2 separate regions of the Homo sapiens genome follow, and region 1 is linked to region 2. The links are contacts of gene promoters, found by promoter capture Hi-C in human tissues and cell types (Jung and others, 2019). All regions are on one chromosome and are shown on one strand. Each heading gives the region's core, a stretch centred on a gene start or on the middle of the fragment in contact. The rest is flanking DNA. Distances are from core to core; before and after follow the strand shown.

What was found. The method cuts DNA at HindIII sites, captures the fragments that hold promoters and counts their contacts. A contact is called where the count stands out against the background at its distance.
Region 1: a fragment that was not itself captured here is called in contact with the fragment with the promoter of ARID5B in region 2 in 1 of the 25 tissues and cell types used here (dorsolateral prefrontal cortex).

Annotation. Positions count from the first base shown.
Region 1 is chr10:62,439,955-62,445,047 of GRCh38, forward strand. It overlaps a transcript of ZNF365 not described here. Among named protein-coding and RNA genes, the nearest start is that of ZNF365, 68 kb to the left of the region's middle. The HindIII fragment of the contact is 5,382 bases long and covers 977-5,093 here.
Region 2 is chr10:61,897,966-61,903,048 of GRCh38, forward strand. ARID5B (AT-rich interaction domain 5B) reads left to right here and starts at 3,734. Exons shown (of 10, transcript NM_032199.3): 1 at 3,734-3,765; 2 at 4,194-4,448. The coding sequence starts at 3,745. RefSeq lists a silencer at 2,256-2,425 and an enhancer at 3,424-3,926. The HindIII fragment of the contact is 5,601 bases long and covers 929-5,083 here.

The sequences.
Region 1 (5,093 bases), core at 2,418-4,917, 540 kb after region 2:
GCAATCTGCATGTTTTTCCTTTGTCCTGTCCGCACTTTCTCCCGCACAAAATGGACTTCTTGAAATTAGTCTCATATGCTTATCTAAGAGACTGCTAAATTGGAATAAGGAACTTTGCCTATGGAGTCTGTTATACAAAATGCACGTATGTCAGAGGATACCTTAGGCTCATTTTGCCATGCAAATGCTAATAATTATAAGCTTTATGAATGCATAGTTTTATTTATTTATTTATTTATTTATTTATTTTTGTATCTCCTCTTCTTGTTTCTTTCTCTTTTTTTTTAAACTTTTATTTTAGGTTCGGGGGTACATGTGAAGGTTTGTTACATAGGTAAACTTGTGTTACTGGGTCACGGGATGGGGGGTTTTTTCTACATATTACTTTATCACCCAGGTATTAAGCCTAGTACCTAATAGTTATCTTTTCTGCTCCTCCCTCCTCCCAACCTCCACCCTCAAGCAGACTGCAATGTCTGTTGTTTCCTTCTTTGCATAAAAATTTACTTTTAGAGGGCAGAGGTTTTTCTTCTATCTTTATGTCTACCAGCACTGTGCCTTGTACAGAGTTTACAGACAATGGGTGAATAAGTAGGGGGAGAGAGAAGGGAAGAAAGTTAGAAGCAGCAAAATGCATTTAGCAAATTGACAGATATGAGATAGAGAATTGTAAGTTCCTTGAAATGAAAATACTGCCTTACTAATTGTGTATCTCTATAGTAGTGTTTGTAAAAGTGTCATCTCATTATTCAGAATCAGCTGGAGCTTTGCTGAAATCCGATTCCTGGTCCCTACCTTAAAACTACAGAAACAAAATGTCTGAAAGTACACCCAGGAATCACTTGTGATTTACTCACTTGTGAATTACTGCCTCAGTGCCTGGCAAAGTCCTTCCTACATATTAGATATTTAGTAAATAACAGAATGAATACATCATCCGATCTCTAAAGTCATTCCTTTAAAACCTAATGTCTTTATGTGATGAGGCAAATATTTCCCTCACAAAAGAGAAAAGGCCCTCTTCAAGTGGGCAAAATATTTTCCTTGATAACTAAGAAGACAAATAAATTATTTAAATATTCACTTACTCATAATTGATGATTATTATGAGTATTCTTTGTGCTTTATCTACATTGTTTGGTTGAATCCCCATAAAAAGTCCAAGAAGCAGATATTATTATTATCCCCATTTTATAGATAAGAAATGAATAACCAGTGAGGTTAAATTGCTTGGCTAAGGTCATACAGCCAGTATGTTGCAGAGCTGAGAGTCAAATCTAAGGATGTCTGATTCTAAAGTCCATACTTAGAACCATTCTACACCCATTGGCAGTTTCTTTTTGCTCCCAGGTCCCACGTTGTTCATGAAGCCTTCTTTGACTTTTTGCATCGATTTTATCTATACCATATATATTAGTTCTTTAAATAGCAAAATCCTAGAATGCTAGAGAAAGAAGAACACAGGGGCCATCTAGACCATTTTCTTTATTTTATAGATAAGAAAATTGAGGCTCAGAGACATGATCTTATTAGAAGTCATACAGACCTCAGTCATCCACACAGGGCAGAACCTTACTGATTCTTGGGGCCTGCTTCTAGAGTCTCTGGGTGCGTAAATCAGATGCAAGGGCCTGGTAATACAGCTCCATGGTTGTGTCCAGTCATCAGCCAAAGTTGGGAATCACATATTCTATATCACTTGGCATTTCATCTGTGTTGTCTTATCTCTCCAACCTTACTTTAATTGGAAGCTTGCTCTATATTTTGGGATCCCTACAATGTCCAGCAAATAACTGGACCTATTTTACATGTTTAATATATGCTTGTGAATTGAATCGAAGAAAGTTTGAGATACTGGATATTTCACTAGGAGGTGGCAGGGAAATGGATTATAGCAATTTAGTAAGGCCACATAACAGCAAATACTTCAGGTGGGAGGCAGAATAGATGGTGATTATAAGATTTGGCTTGTCTCGTTTGCTTCAGCTCATAATGATTCCGGAGCCCCGTCAATCAAAGATTTCAGATTGCAGAGTCTTGATTTCTGATTTTCTTTTGCCTTCCCAAGCTGGGTAGACATGCTTAGCAAACGTGATCCCCAGATGCTTGGGACATGTCTTACACTGCTATAAGCACACAGAACCAAACCCCAGTGACACTCTTGCCTTGGAGTGGCAGAGCCTTATATGGAAACAGAGTGTACTTTTCGTTTTACTGGGGGATCTTTAAATAGCAAGGAACAGCAACTCAAAGCTTTCCAAAGAGCTACTTAAAGTTATTTTTCTCCATGACAACAGCCTGGCAATAAGGATAGAATTTAAAGAGCCAGGATCCCAAGTCGAAAGAGAGAAGGAAAATTTCCCTGCTAAATTGAATGCTCAGAGATGAATCAAAGCCAGAGTGTAAATTCCATACATTGACTCACAACTATAGAACAGATGAGATGAGCAATCAAACTACATTCTTTAATTAACTGTATGCAAAATCGCGGATATTTAAAGGTGTTCACTTGGTGGTGGGTGGGGTGGAGGGAGATACTCACAGGCTTACGTTACAATTGCTGGTGCTGAAACGATGGCTTCATTTTCTTGCTTGTTACCTTTAGAAGTTTGGAGGGATGGATGTCATTTGGCTGCTTAAAGGTCAACTTCTAAATAATCCTCCTGGCCTTCTTCCTTTGCCTGCACCTAGCAGAAACACCTTTGCCCTGTCTCTTGAAATCCTACTCCTCCACATAGGCTATGGTGGACTCAACTCCTGGTTCTTCTTTTCCAACAAGGGAAAATATTCAGATGTCTTCTCAGGGAGTCCTCACATTGGCTTTTTATTTTTCTAATCTGAGAGGCTGGCTTTATCCCCAACATGGGGGGAATTTCTGAGATTTACCTTCCACTTCTGATCATCCCCAGGAATGAGGACGGACTTGCCCTGATAACTTCCTTACCCTCCACTCCTGACCAAGTTCTAGTCCACTGGAGCACCATTAGCTTTAGAATTGATCAACCCCAGAAACAGAACAGATTCAATTGTCCGTCGCATACAGGGATGCACTCAACAGTGCTCCCTGCAAGGGCTCAACCGGGCTTTGAATTCTGAATCACCGGACACTCTGTTTAGTGACACGTAGCTCTCTAGCTACAGTGGCAGTTTTTACCACTGACCAGTGCCCGTGATGACCTTTCATTTGGCAAACATTGAGTGCCCTTTATAAGTCAAGCACTAAGTACAGCACTGAAGCAGTGAATAAATCAGTTATCAGCTTCTTCCTTCTGAGGTGAAAGGGATTTTCCTGTAATGATTGGTTCTAGTTCTGCCCTTTGAAAGCATATAATTAGTTATTCCATTCCTTCAGAAAACTGGAGACAAACAGAGACCCTCAATGTCTGTTGTCACTCTGATCACTCCTTCTTTTGTGTATGCCCCAGTTGGTCAGTGACCCTTTCAAAGGAGACTGCTTAGAATTTTACCTTCCTTCTCGGGTTCCTCTGCCTTGTGTTTAGATGCTCTGGTTTTATTACAGTTCCCTGGTTCGGAGCAGTTACATGGCTTATCATGTTTCCAGAGCCTAGAGGTGCAAGCTTGCATATGTATATGTCTCTTGGGGAGAAGGAGTTAAAAACATTAACTTCAACCTGGGGAGTTGTTTTTCTTCTCCTGCTCTTTAACCAGAAAATAAATGTGATTGTAGCTTTGAAAACTGAAATGCTAGCTTTTAAACAACTGGCAAATAATAGCGTTCAAGATTTCAAGGGGAAAATGGGCTCCATAAAACTTCTGTGCTCAGAACCCCCACATTGTCCTTTTAGTTGGTAAATTGAGAATAAGTGGCAATGAGGAGGTAATCGCCTTTAACTGCATTTCACTGAGAACTAATGTCCCTGTGACCAGTAAATAATGTTAACTTAAAAAAAAATTAAGCCAGGCCTCTCCACTGTGACAACTTAAATATGCAATGATTACAGTCTTGAACTTTTGCCCCCATGGAGTACAGCTTGACTGTGAGGAAAGGGGTACATTCATCTGTTCCACCAAAGCATTCTCAATGCCATCCATGACAAAAGTTTTGGACTGATATTATCAAGGATTAGGCAATCCCTCTGCTCTTAGACTTGGCATCTTCTAGGGCTGAGAAGTGTCAGACTGACTCCAGGAAGCATCAGCCATTTCCTCTCACTCCAGGGACAGGAAGGACTGACTTATTCCCCTGCTGATTATTTTCTGCCCCCATTTCCCATCTTGTTCTGCTCCCCAGATGCATTCTCTGCTCTTCTCTGTGCCCTGGGAGGCTGATCCCTGCAGATACATCTCTTGGTGTGCTGGCTGATTTTGAGTTGAGTTTGGCCATTGAGAGGCCCCGGTAGGAGACAGGAGAGTGGGAAGAGAGGTCAGTGTATAACTTCTGAGCCCTCTGCTTCTGTAGTATGTCTCTAGAAGTAGCTGCGCTCAATTACTTCAAATTACAGCTTCTGCCAATTAGCTCCTTATCTATGGTTCTAGTTTTCAGTAGACTCTAGCAATTGTCTTGGCCCTGGGCCCCAGGGCTGGTAATGGCCCTAGGAGGCTGGTAATAGCCTCCTATTGTTGCTAGTCTCTGGATGCATCAACCACCCTAACTTTTCCTTAACCTGCCCTCTCCTCTGTCCTTACATCTTCTTCATTCAAATCACCTGGAATGAATTCTTTCCTGCATGGGCCCTGGCAGTTAAACTTCTGAATGTTCGAATCTCTTCTTGTAAGTCATGTAATGCCATGCCATCAACTCCAGGGAAGCCTTCTTACCTCTTTCAGGCAGATGCAGTCCCCAGTTCTTTTATTTTATTTTATTTTATTATTATTATACTTTAAGTTTTAGGATACATGGGCACATAGTGCAGGTCAGTTACATATGTATACATGTGCCATGCTGGTGTGCTGCACCCATTAACTCGTCAGTTAGTATTAGGTATATCTCCTAATGCTATCCCTCCCCCCTCTCCCCACCCCACAACAGTCCCCAGAGTGTGATGTTCCCCTTCCTGTGTCCATGTGATCTCATTGTTCAATTCCCACCTATGAGTGAGAACACGAGGTGTTTGGTTTTTTGTCCTTGCGAT
Region 2 (5,083 bases), core at 2,484-4,983:
GGCCCAGGGGTACGCAGAGAGGTTTGCATTTTCGAAATGGTCGCCTTCTTTCTTCAAACTGTACTTTTCCTTTTTTTTCTTTTTTTATGATCCTGTTTATTATAGTCCAAGCTGCCTAATTATGTCACTGCTGGTTTTTGCAACTAACTTAATCCTCCTGATCCTTTATGAAGCGATTCACAGACACTGAATAATGTCTACTGCTCTCCCATCCCCTTGAGGGGCAAGAATGATTTTTAATTTTTTACCGTGTAAATACACGAGATTAACTTAGAGAGTTGGATTTTTGGCTAGTAAAGCAGCAAGAATATAGGTGTGTGGGTACCGGATTCTGTGTTTCAGTACAAGAAAGAGCCCAGAAGTAGTGGGTCATATAAACATATACTACTCTCCCTCCCACCTTTTATACACAGCAAGTTCCAGCTACAAGCTTTTTTATAGATAAATAAAGCAGTTGCTTTCATGATTATAACTGTCCTGAATGGATTGTCTTCTTACAACATTCAATCTGTTTATGAGTATTTACTTTACATTAGCCCAGGGACCCTGCACTGCAGGAGTTTGCCTCTATTCCCCTGGGTGTCGGTGTCTCAAGTCTTACATCTGCTCTGTGATTGATGGAGCCTTGAATCCACGTTATTACTCTCTCACAAGCAGAAATCAAACAGGCTATTAACTACATTACTTCAAAGAACTGTTTCAATACAATCTCCTTATCTTAATTGAAACTTTCTTTGTATGGATATTTGCTACACAGATAATTTACAGGTGCCTATCAAACATCACATTAAAGAAGAGGTAAAATTGAGGGATTTTTGGGGGGGAGGGGTAAACACTATTGTGATCTGTAATTTTAAAAGGCATTCACAGTATTGGTTTGATTTATTAGATTTATTATGTTCACGGGGGGTGGGGGCAGTGCTGTAAAAAGAGGGGGAAAGATACCCCTGTGATTCGGTTTTGAAATTTAGCATTCATCTGATTACAAGGCTGCGGATATTCAAAAATATTCAGACCCAGATCCCTGCAATTGTTAACATCTCAGAAACCTTATCGGAGAGATAAGGCAGCATGCATCCTAGTTCAGTGCCTACCTTGAAGAGCTGAAGAAACAGGGTTTCTAATTAGATGAAGTTCGTTACACACTTAAAGACTTACAGCACCAAAGACAGTAGAAGTAGCTTAGATGCTGTAAAGAGCTGTATAATTTTTTAAGAAAGAGATTTAATATACAATTGAGGGATACCCTCAGGCATTCTGTTGAGGTTTCCTGCATAAATGCTGCTGCATTGGTCATACAGGAAACTGACTCAGAGTCGATCTCAAATACGATCTTGTCAAAATACTGCAACTCAAGTTTTTTTAATATAGGATTTCTTGAACTGGATGTATATATTTACGCTAACACGACAGAGACTAACAGAAGCTTTAGGCATATCTATTTTTAAAAAAGACATGTAAAATGCCCCTCAGTCAAGTCCATTCATATGTTAAAAATGAACAAAATGGGCGATTCTAATCAAACGTCTGCAGTATGCATTATAAAGTTAAAAAGAGAGAGAGAAAGCGCAGGAGAGCTATAATTTCTCTTTGTAACCCATGTTTATAAAATAGAAAGATCAGATGAAATTTCAAGAGATAATTAAAGAGTGATGTGCAAGTCATAATTTGGCTAATGTTAAAGATGGGAGACTGCGAATTGTAGTCCTCCATGGTGCAGAGTTGTGATATTACTTTAAATTATTAAAATAGTTTTCGACAGCTTTCAGAATACCGGCTCTTTGGCATGGGCTTTTATTATTTATTGTAATTAGAGGATCTGCCATTTTCTTTCGTTTATCTCTGTGTGTATAGAAACGAGATAGATTTTGCCTTTTATTACTTCCCCATATTCTGAATCAAAAATGTGGTTTAGATAATGTTAAGTGCCCTAATTCTTACTGCAGCGGACGCAGACGTTATGAAAAGGCATAAAAATACACACAGAGGGTCTTTCCACCTCAAGTCACTGAATATGAGGCATTTGTGCTCTGCCGGGTGTATTAACTTCAGCCATGTGAATATAATTTTCATTAAAGTAATCCTGTTTCAACTAGATGCTGTGACTAGAGGTGAAACGTTGCGAAAGCGTTAAAAATAGCTTACTAGTAATTTCAACATCCTGTAATTTTATCACAGATCAAGTTTCAACTGTCATACTATACAGACCTTATTCCCCATATAGTACATGTTTACTTTTTTAGCATGCCAGACCCACTTTGGAAAGATTGGTGCCAATATAATAAAAGCTGGAGGGGGGGTGTGCTGGAAGGAGTGGGAGGAGAGCGGGGAAGGGGGTGGGGGAACGTGGGGGAAGCGAGTACACCATTTTAAATCAACACTGCGAAAATGCAATCTAGCCTGGCGGAGGACCGGCAGCTGGGTCGGAGCTTGCGAGGGCTTTGCAGTCTCTGCCTGTTCCTTGTTCTGTCGCTCTTAAGTTTCTCTGTGTTTGCATAATAGCCGTGCATGCAAACCTCGCAATGCTCCAGGGCTCCAGAACAATAAATATACACATTTAAAGCCTTTATTGTCTTACGGTTCATGCCCCCGGTTTTCAACAGCTTAATTTCTGGTTGTATTTAACTAGTTTGCAAATGGATTTTTTCAGTTTCAAACTATTATTGAGGAAGCTCCCCTCCCTTTTTTGGCGGGGGAGGGGATGGGGGTGGGGTAGGAGTCGGTATATTATTCCTGTAGCGCTGGGTTATATAAACACATTATCATTTGAGAGCGCCCTTGGCGTCCATCAGCATTGTAAACACGTACTAGTGTATATACTTCAAAATTAAAGAATGCACACGCAGAACCGGGAGCCTGAATTCATATTCTGAGCAGACTCGCTTCTCGCATTTATTGATTTATCATGCATCGTTTATTGTTCCAGTCCCTAAATGCAGTCGCTGTCCGTTCAATATTGTTTGCGAAATCCTAAGATGTGTGTGCACTGCTCACTTGTCTCTTTTTTTTTTGCTGAGTATTTTTTTGCGAAGCGAACAAATGCATTAATATTTATATGTTTATATAATCGATAACCCACTTTTCCCTTCCATGTAAATAGGCATCAAAAGATAATTTAACAGATTAGTTCTCGAAAACATGGCAGTGAGGAAGCGTAATTTAACTATCAAACAAATCTACATGTCTAATAACAGCAAATCTGCTAAGAAGCATTAGAAAGAGGAGCAGCGCCCCGGAATCTCTGCAGGAAATGTTCTTTATATTAGACATATACAAGCAGGTCCTGTCAGATGCACAGTGGAGCTCGCTACCCCTCCTCTCCTCCAAAAATCTCATCAGACGATATCCCAGACAGGAGCGGTTAGAGAGAGAGGAATCACATCTCCACACAGTTTTAGGGTGCTTTTTATTTTTACAAATCTTCTTGTGTGTTTTTTGCCTTGATCCATCCTCTTCCCGCCGAGATCGTATGGCGCCTTTCTCTCGATTATGAATTTGATCAATCCATCTTTGGAAGAAAACCCACATAGTTTTTTCAGGAGCTGAAAATTGAGTCGTTATAGAAATATTAGGACATATTTTCAATCATTTCGGTGCCCGAAGGGAGGCAAGAGCTCAGTTTTATATTGAGACATTACGCCGGCTGAAGGCAGAGAATGCGTTTCCCTGCCAGGACCTGATGCAATCCATTCAAGCCAACAAGTTTGGAGAGAATGTTGAGTTCAATCAATTCAGAACGTCGAGATGGAGCCCAACTCACTCCAGGTATTTCGCTCTCCTCCGCTCCTCCGATCCCGGCACCCCCCGGCACCCCCCAACCCCCCAGCTCACCCACACCTCTGCACCCACCCACACCCCCCACAAACTTTTCACCAAACTTTTACCCTCTGCATCCCCCAAAATCATTTTTATTGTTTAAAAAAATCCCTGCACTGATCATACATACATAATGTAATTTTACCGCCTCAAATGGGGAGGTGGGTAGAAGTGGCGGTGGGGGGCCCTGAGTTTTTTTTTTTTTTTTTTTAGGGAAGCAGAAAATTTGTGGGTGCTATTATTTTTCCACCCAGCGTTATATCTGTTGGGTCGTCTGTATTAAGAGAGTGGATGTCTGTGTGTAAATGTGTCTGGGAATAGATGTTTGTGCTCTGATGGCTACATTATTTATTTGGTGTTTTTTTCCCCCCCTGCAGTGGGTCGGCTCACCGTGTGGCTTGCACGGACCTTACATTTTCTACAAGGCTTTTCAATTCCACCTTGAAGGCAAACCAAGAATTTTGTCCCTTGGCGACTTTTTCTTTGTAAGATGTACGCCAAAGGATCCGATTTGCATAGCGGAGCTCCAGCTGTTGTGGGAAGAGAGGACCAGCCGGCAACTTTTATCCAGCTCTAAACTTTATTTCCTCCCAGAAGACACTCCCCAGGGCAGAAATAGCGACCATGGCGAGGTGGTAAACCTGTCTGTCCCCCTCTTCTTTCTTTATTATTTTTCCCCCTAGTAATGCTTATTACAGGGCAAGCTTGAAAATACTGTATTCACTTCTGCAGGCAAGCAGGATCGACTCCTTTTTTAAAGGGGTAGCGCCACTAGCTGGGGCTCGAGTATTTTGCCATTGTCAGAGTTTGGCTGTCAGCTTTACAAAGAGGATCCAACTGCTGATTTTAGTCAAGATCAAATAACTTGTTCGAGAAGGGTTTTGTTCAAGGATGTGTGTGTGTGTGTGTGTGTGTGTGTGTATGTGTGTGTGTGTGTTCATTTGCTCTCCTGCTATTGCCTCTTGAACATCACATGCTTTTTATATTTTTTGCCTTTTGAAAATTTACCTTCGTGTCTGGCTCGGTCGTGTCTGGGTGGATTTCTTTCGGTGGGTTTCGATATTGTTCTTTTTTCAAAGTAAGTATTTGATATGTTTAAGAGGGCGGAAATTACGAAATGGAGGCAGAATGAGATCAAAAGCTATTGAGTTGGCAAAGACGTGTTGAATAAAGTGATAAATGACAGGTACTGGAATAATACATTCAAATAACTTGCAGATCTGCCCGGGCGGATTTCAAAGCGGTGGTGTAACAGGCACAAACACGT